3 separate regions of the Homo sapiens genome follow, and regions 1 and 3 are each linked to region 2. Evidence: promoter capture Hi-C in 16 types of primary human blood cells and fetal thymus (Javierre and others, 2016). All regions are on one chromosome and are shown on one strand. Each heading gives the region's core, a stretch centred on a gene start or on the middle of the fragment in contact. The rest is flanking DNA. Distances are from core to core; before and after follow the strand shown.

Region 1 (3,123 bases), core at 92-2,591, 79 kb after region 2:
GTTTCAAAATGATAATTTTTCTAGATTATATTAAGAATTAACTTTAATACCATGCCACCTAGTGGCATTTTGATTGGAAAACTCCTTGTGATTTAGTTAGCATAAAGCTTCATTACATGGAAGGAAATATTTTAGAGCAAAGTTTTGTGTTTTAAATTTGTTCTTATTATCTTCATTACAAAACTGGATATTTGTACCTGCACAAATGTAATGACATCCCTAAATTTCTGCGACACCAATAGCATCAGAGTTGTAACCACCCAAGGGATTCTTTTTGCCTGCTGCCCAGATAGAGCTGATTTATCAAGACAGGGGAATTGCAATAGAGAAAAAGTTTAATGCACACAGAGCCAGCTAAATGGAAGACTGGAGTTTTATTACTCAAATTAGTCTCTCCAAAAATTCAGAGACTGCAGTTTTTAAAGTATAATTTGGTGAATGAGGGGGCTAAGGGAGTGGGGAGTGGAGGTTAAATCATATGGGGTCTAAGTGGATTCTTCTTGCTGTCTTCTGTTCCAGGGTGGGATTACAGAACTGCTTGAGCCAGATTACCAGTCTGCATGGTGTCAGCTGGTGCATCAGAATGCAGGGTCTAAAAAAATATCCAAACATCAATCTTAGGTTTTACAATAGTCATCTTATCCATAGGAGCAATTGGGGAGGCTGGGAATCTCGTGGTCTCTAGCTGCATGACTCTTAAATCATAATTTCTAATAATCTTGTGGCTAATTTGTTAGTTTTACAAAGGCATGCTGGTCCCCAGGGAAGAAGAGGTTTGTTTCAGGAAAAGGTTGTTATCATCTTTTCAAAATTCTTTAAACTATAAATTCCTCCTTTAGTTAGCTCAGCATAGGAATGAACAAGGGCAATTTAGAGATTAAAGGCAAGATGGAGTGGATTAGGTCAGATTTCCCTCACTGTCATACTTGTCTCACTGATATGAATTTTGCAAAGGCAGTTATAGAGTGTGTGGTGTCTGCTTTCCTCCCATTAATCACCCCCCAATATTTACTCCTATATGATTATGATCCGTCTATGGGGAAATTACCAACCAAGCCTGATTAGAGAGAGCCAGACCTTCCAACTCCAATACTCATCTTGATGGTCCGACATGTGGGTGAATGTTGTATAAAATGGCATGCCTGGATTCTGGACTTCTTGCATTGTTTTGAGTTTCTTAGGAGATATAATCATGGTGGTATTTACATTTATGTTGTCAGGAAAAGACAAAAGCCATTGCTTTGTTTTCCTCTTTAGGCTCTTGAAGCATGTTGAGACATATCTAGTAGAGTTTCAGTATTACCATTGCTTATGACAGTAGCTGCTCTGGAAAGGGGGAATGATGAAAAAGTGTGATCCTGTTGCCACTCCCTGCATGATCTATTTTTCCTAACAAAGTCATGGTTATAGATGTTTGCATTACTGATGGCCAGTGTGAACAACATTTTGGATAATGTTTATCTTGTAGGTGATAATTCAGTGACAGTAGGAAAAACAGCAGGGTGGCAGGAGTGACTACAGAGTTCTGTAATTTGACTAGTTTTTAAATAATTGGATGCTAACACATATATTATTGTATTTATTTATTTATTTTGAGGCGGGGTCTCACTCTGTTGCCCAGGCTGGAATGCAGTGGTGCAATCCCAGCTCACTGCAACCTCCACCTCCCAGGTTCAAGCTATTCTTCTGCCTCAACCTCCCAAGTAGCTGGGACTACAGGCACACACCACCACGCTTAGCTGATTTTTGTATTTTCAGTAGAGATGGGGTTTCCCCATGTTGGTCGGGTTGGTCTCAAACTCCTCACCTCAGGTGATCCCCCCACCTTGGCCTCCCAAAGTGCTGGGATTATAGGAATGAGCCACTGCACCCAGCCCATCTTATTGTATGTCTAAGGATAGATATACTTGCATAGGAATACCTTGTTCAGAGAAATAATACTGATTTTTTTTGTTGTGATTAAAGAAGGTTTTCTTTTCCCGTGGGAACTGTATTGCAAAACGAAAATTTGCATCAAACTGTTAAACTAACTAAACATTTTATTTTTACATTGAGTTGAGGAGAAGAATGCGTAACATGAATGGACAATTTTCTGGGGACATAACCTGATGCTCTGATAATTCTAGGGGTAACTAAAGTTGTCAATCTTATTTCTGTTTCAAAGAATTAGTACTATTAGTACTATAGTACTAATATATACATACGGTATTATATATAGTACTAATATATATGTACTAAATTTTCAGTGACATTGGTTACAAATGTAAAACAAAACCAAACACAAATATTCTTAATTATATTATGTCTCTATATTATTCTCTGTAAACTTTCTTTATTTAAAATTGTTATAATTAGTAAATTTGTATCATTTTGCTGTCTTTCTTTCTCTTTCTTTTAGTTGGCACTTGGCAATGTAATAAGTGCCTTGGGAGACAAGAGCAAGAGGGCCACACATGTCCCCTATAGAGATTCCAAGCTAACAAGACTACTACAGGATTCCCTCGGGGGTAATAGGTATGCATAGATGATTATCCTCTACTCAGACTTTTGATTATTCATTATTAAATAAGCTTGTAAGATGATTTATAAGAACTACTTTTATTGCAAAGCAAACTAATAGGATGAGGAACTAATCCTTATACTGTTAAGGATCTCAAATGTGTGAATAATTTTGTATGTTATTTCACATAATCCTAGCATCCCTTGAGGTGTAGGTATTATTATTCTATTTTCTAGATAAGGGAAATGAATCTAGAGAGGTTAAGTAATTTATTCAAGGCCACTTAGCTTGTATATGAAGTCAATAGTATGTGGACTTTCTCTCTTATCGTAGCTTCTGTTTTAAGTACTTAGCACAGAATAGAAAGCTAATAAAATTTTGTTGAAAAAGTACTCTTTCCTAAGTAATTACAAAGTAATTTAAATATTATTGGTACTTTTTTTTTTACAAAGTCTTCTAAAAATTCAAATTTTTTTTTATACGTGGAAAAATCTTAATGTCCACTGAATGAAATACAGAGTGTTGGCTGGTTATTAACTTTGCCAATATCACTGACATTCTTGCTTTCTCATACCTTGCATCATTCTGATATGTTTTTTCAGCTTTTTTTTTTATGGTAATGT
Region 2 (2,775 bases), core at 38-2,537:
TGGGTTTAAATCATCAAACACTTCTTGTTTTTCCCATAGTGTTGCAGCCTTCTCTGAGCCACACTGCTGTATCACTGCTGAACAAGATGATTAGGTATGTGATTGTAGATTGCAGGCATTTGAGGTAGTGCCTTTATTTGGATAGTGCCATTTAATTTGTGATACTATTTCGTATGAAGCCACATGTTTGTTTATAGAGATGTATGGAGCAGTCCACAAAAGATACTCTGTGGCAAAGCTAATAAAGGCTGTTTCCACAGAGCTATCTGAAGGCATGTGGAAGCACAATAGTGACAAACAGAAACCACAATGGGTCAATGTTGAGAGAATCCTGGGATTGGGAGGTGCTTTTTAAAGGCCAGAAGGGAAAGAAAATCAGTTTGGAAGGATTTACTACACAGCAGGTCTTGGTGGATATATTCAGTTCTGGGAACACTTGGCAGTACCAGGGTGCAGTTCATTTACCAGTGTACAAATGATTGAACAGAAAAGCATTCAGGAGTCTCGAATAAATCATTTCCATATCCCACCCGAGCTGGTAAACGGGCGATGAACTGTAGAACAGCCCAGCTGTCCAGAGACAGTGGACAAACCTGGGAGTCCGTTTAGCATGAATGACTGACTCCGGGGAGGGAGGAGGGAGGGCGTTCAGCTGGGGGCTAGGGAAGGGGGTCAAAGTCCAAGCTGCAGAGAGGACAATAAGGCTATGCGTGGGACACAAAGCCGAACCGCAGCAGCAGCTGCCTGGCTCCCGGCGCGCCGCTGAATCAAGCTTCGATTTGAGAAGGGACCTGGCAGCAGCGCGTGCACTAGCTGCTTCCTTCTCCCAGAAGAGCCTGGAAGGGCGCACAGGCTGGTCGCCCTCGGGCGAGGGCAGCCGGCGGCAGGCATCCCTCCCCCTCGCCTCCCTGCCCAGCAGCGCCAGGCAGTGTCCCGACGAGGGCAGGGCGGGGCGCAGGCTGGGGGAGGGCGAGGTGGGGCTGAGCCGCGCGGCGGCGGCTGACGCAGTGCGGGGCGAGGAGCCCGGAGCGCCCTGGCGGGCGTGGAGTCCCCAGCCTGGCCGCTGGGAGGCCGCGTCCCCACCGGAGGGGGCAGGGCGCACTCACCCGGCCGCCCTGAGGCCGCTGGCGGCCTGTTGGCTTCTCCACAGGCGCGCTCGCCGTTCAAGCGCGCTTTGTCCCCGCCCCAGATCCTGGGGGGTGAGCGGTGGAGAAGGGGCGGGCGCCCGCGAGCCGTGAATCACCTCCTCCTCTTGCTGCCTCAGCGCCGCCGCCACCTTTCCATTCAGTCGCCCAACATGGCTGGAGCGCGGCGGAGGTGAGCCGGCCGCCCGCCCGCAGACGCCCCAGCCTACTGCGCCCGAGTCCCGCGGCCCCAGTGGCGCCTCAGCTCTGCGGTGCCGAGGCCCAACGGCTCGATCGCTGCCCGCCGCCAGCATGTTGGGCGCCCCGGACGAGAGCTCCGTGCGGGTGGCTGTCAGGTGAGGACAGTCTGCCGGCGGCGGGCGGCGGGCGGCGGGTTGAGGGCGCGGCAAGGACCTGGCTGTGGCGCGGAGCACCGGCTACCGGGGTGGAGCGACCTGAGGGGCGTCCCGGCCGGGTTCTGCGGCTGAGGAAACTGAGGCAGTGAGTCCCCGCTGGCCTGGCACGCGCGGCCGGGTGCTGGCAGGGCGACTGCGCCGCCCTCACGCCGTCTGTGTTTGCAGGTGGCTGGCGGCTGCGCGGCGCCGGGTCCCTGGGGGGCGTCTTGACTTCTCTGGGGGAAAAGCCCTCGTCACTCCCCTCCGTCCCCTCGCGGGATCAGTCACCTCAGGTCTGGCCGCCTTGGGCTATCGCCTGTCCGGGAGGAGCTGCCTGTGCGCGGGGCTGTGGTGTTCTTTTTTATTAGTTCTAGAATGTCTGTCATACGTGTCCATGCAGCTCCGGCCTTCCCAGGCAGGAGACAAAGCATCTGACTATCAGCGCCGGCGACCGCAGGGCCCGCCGCGCGCCCACTCGGGTTCTGATGTCTGTGCAAATGAGACATCTTTTTCAGCATCACGGGGATCTAGACATGCCCCCGCGTGTGGGTAGAGGAGACAGATCTAGCCTCTTGGGTGTTGGAATGGGAGTGGAATTTAAGGTAAAATCCACTGGGGAGAGGTCTACAGAAGGAGGAAAACTCTTTAGCCAGAGGAAGGGTGAAATGGGTGACTGTGTGAAACATACTGACATTAGGCAGGGTGGATACAATGTAATCGTAACGTTACCCAGGCCAGGGTGTGAGTCTGGAAATACTAGGTACATCCTAGTATTGAAATTATATTTCGGCCAATGACAGGCACGAGTATTCGATGTAATTTCGGCTGTTTTGATACTTATCAAGAAGGAAAGCTCTGATAGTTGCTCATGGAAAATTGCAACATCATCACACTGTGTGAAAAATTAATGAAGCATTCATCCTAGAGTAAGTGCGTGGCTTTCACAGCTCTGAGAGTCTACTGTTAATTCACTTCTCCTTATTTATGCTTTAAGGATTATAAAAATAATCTACACTCCAAGGAATTAGGAACTATTAACAATCTCCCAGTCTTGTAGTCTTTCCAGAAAATTATTCTAAAAATTCTCCCCTCTAAACATTTCTATAGTTACTATTTTAGTGACACATCTTGGGTCAGGCATAGTAATGGCTGTTTCGTATACTTTGTATCTTTAATTAACTTAAATAATAAAATGAGTTTTTAAGTGTTTTTTTTTTTTTTTTTTTTACCACCCAGGGAGGTGACAGTTTTATGAC
Region 3 (2,728 bases), core at 198-2,697, 100 kb after region 2:
TTGTTTTGCCAATATTGTGCTATTAATTTTTACAAATCACATTTTAGGAAGAAAGTCAAGAAGTGAGTGATCATGAGGATGAAGAAGAGGAGGAGGAGGAGGAGGAAGATGACATTGATGGGGGTGAAAGTTCTGATGAATCAGATTCTGAATCAGATGAAAAAGGTACTTGCCCTTTGGTATAAGGGCAAAAATTCATTTTGGGAAGTTGTTTAAACCATGACAGAAAACTCTTAACATTCTCTATTTCATACTTGATGAAAGAAACTTCTGTGACCACTGACCTACATTTGCCTTCCAAGGCTTATGTGCTAAACAAATGAGTTACTTCTCTTACTGGATTTAGTCATTGTGTGATTTCCATTCTTACCTAATACAAATAGCATTGTCCTTGACCAAAATGAACACTCTTTATCTCATTCACCTTTTGGTTGTTGGTTTTTCCAGGAAATTTTTCTAATAACTACTAAGTGAATAAAAATACCTAGTTGATGGTTTTTATGGTCTGCTTGAAAGCTAGAATTCTGATATTTTGGCCTAGCACCAGGATTTTTATTTTCTTCTTTTATAAATAGCCAATTATCAAGCAGACTTGGCAAACATTACTTGTGAAATTGCAATTAAGCAAAAGCTGATTGATGAACTAGAAAACAGCCAGAAAAGACTGCAGACTCTGAAAAAGCAGTATGAAGAGAAGCTAATGATGCTGCAACATAAAATTCGGGATACTCAGCTTGAAAGAGACCAGGTGCTTCAAAACTTAGGTAAGAATTATATTTAATTCAAATGAAAGTTCAAGCTAAATCTTCAAAATGGGTTTTTATCTTTTCCTTTAGAAGAAAAAAAATAGAAGCCGTATTAAACCCTTTTTTGTTATTTATTTGTTTTGTTTTTGCAAGTCAAAGTTTGTGCCTTTTATTTAAAAGTTATATGTAGCTTGTAAATACTTTTTGGCCACATTATATGTTAATTTGTCTCATAATGTTAAATATTGTTATTTGTTTTGTTTTTTCATACCGATATCTGCCTAGGCTGTTTACTTACTTTATACAAATTTATGGTTGTTTTAATGTTTTGATTTATGTTGGGGACATTTTAACATAACATATTAATAAATAAGCTTCAATAATCATTAAACAGGTTAAGAGTAGATAATAAAAGAGAGAATGATTGAAAGACACCCTAGTCTTCTGAGATGTGGGTGTTTGGGAAGTAGCTCTTCTCTTAGGATATGGACTGTAAATCTGTGAAATAAAAATCTGTGTCTCACAAAAAAACATATAAAAATGTCCTCTGGTCATTTAGGCTCGGTAGAATCTTACTCAGAAGAAAAAGCAAAAAAAGTTAGGTCTGAATATGAAAAGAAACTCCAAGCCATGAACAAAGAACTGCAGAGACTTCAAGCAGCTCAAAAAGAACATGCAAGGTTGCTTAAAAATCAGTCTCAGTATGAAAAGCAATTGAAGAAATTGCAGCAGGATGTGATGGAAATGAAAAAAACAAAGGTATTGATTATTTTTTTCCATTAACGTTTGATGTTCAGTATGATTTTGTCATTTGGGACAAAAAATAAACAACTCTTGTGGTTCTTTCCATATTCGATAAAGGTAACCCAATCTTACAAATGATGTAATTTCCTTTGGCAATTAGAAGTTGTTTCTAATAGTCATTCCTCATCCAAGCCTTTCTTCAGAGTAGCTGAAAATCATGTGCTCATCAGGGCTTCTTAGACATTGATAGGTATTTCTTCTCTTAAAACTCTTATGCAAGCTTAACAAAAGTATAAAATATTTCAAATATGCAAGAAAGCATACATAATAACAAACACTGTATCCACAGTCTAGTTTAAAATATTAAGCATTACAGATATACAGTAAGCCTTCTGTTTATCTCTTCCTGATCATATTCCCCATTCTCCAATAGCTAATAACTGTCTTAAATTTAGTGTTTATAATTCCTATACTTAGAGAAGCACTAATTTTCTTCCCCTGTCCAAAGAGAGTGTGCAAATCCTGATCTGTTATCTGTTTTTGATTAATTATTCTTTACATCTTTCATGAAAGTCAGTGTAGTTTTCTTAAAATAACAATAAAATAGCAAATATGGAAGTGATTTAGAAAGTATAATCATGCATTGCTTAATGATGGTACATTCTGAGAAATGCATTTTTAGGTGATTTCATTATTGTGCAAACATCATGGAGTGTACTTATACAAACCACGATGGTATAGCCTACTACACACCTAGGCTATGTGGTATAGCCTGTTGCTCCTAGGCTACAAACCTGTACAGCATGTTACTATGCTGAATACTCTAGGCAATTTTAACACAATGCTAAATATTTGTGTATCTAAACATATCTAAACATAGAAAAGGTATTGTAAAAAATACAGTAAAAAAGATAAAAAAATGGTACACTTTTTTTTTTTTTTTTGAGAGGGAGTCTCGCTCTGTTGCCCACCTCCCAGGTTCAAGCAGTTCTCCTTTCTCAGCCTCCCCAGTAGCTGGGACTATAGGTGCACACCACCATGCCCAGCTAATTTTTGTATTTTTAGTGGAGACAGGGTTTCACCATATTGGTCAGGCTGGTCTCAAACTCCTGACCTCAGCTGATCCACTAACCTCGACCTCCCAAAGTGCTGGGATTAAAGGCATGAGCCACTGTGCCCAGCCAAAACTTGTATACTTTTACAGGCATTCCTGATTTTACTGTGATTTGCTTTATTAC

The links. The method cuts DNA at HindIII sites, captures the fragments that hold promoters and counts their contacts. A CHiCAGO score of 5 or more calls a contact.
Region 1: a contact is called between a fragment that was not itself captured here and the fragment with the promoter of KIF21A in region 2, in 2 of 17 cell types (total CD4 T cells and naive CD8 T cells). The highest score is 5.4, in total CD4 T cells.
Region 3: a contact is called between a fragment that was not itself captured here and the fragment with the promoter of KIF21A in region 2, in 1 of 17 cell types (total CD8 T cells). The highest score is 8.3, in total CD8 T cells.

What each region holds. Positions count from the first base shown.
Region 1 is chr12:39,362,489-39,365,611 of GRCh38, reverse strand. It overlaps KIF21A (kinesin family member 21A), which reads left to right. Exons shown (of 38, transcript NM_001173464.2): 7 at 2,399-2,514. Among named protein-coding and RNA genes, the nearest start is that of KIF21A, 79 kb to the left of the region's middle. The HindIII fragment of the contact is 2,463 bases long and covers 110-2,572 here.
Region 2 is chr12:39,441,632-39,444,406 of GRCh38, reverse strand. It overlaps KIF21A (kinesin family member 21A), which reads left to right and starts at 1,287. Exons shown (of 38, transcript NM_001173464.2): 1 at 1,287-1,480. The coding sequence starts at 1,437. RefSeq lists enhancers at 617-676, 958-1,458, 2,277-2,346 and a silencer at 757-1,656. The HindIII fragment of the contact is 8,179 bases long and covers 775-2,775 here.
Region 3 is chr12:39,338,942-39,341,669 of GRCh38, reverse strand. It overlaps KIF21A (kinesin family member 21A), which reads left to right. Exons shown (of 38, transcript NM_001173464.2): 14 at 48-165; 15 at 576-764; 16 at 1,306-1,505. Among named protein-coding and RNA genes, the nearest start is that of KIF21A, 100 kb to the left of the region's middle. The HindIII fragment of the contact is 650 bases long and covers 1,123-1,772 here.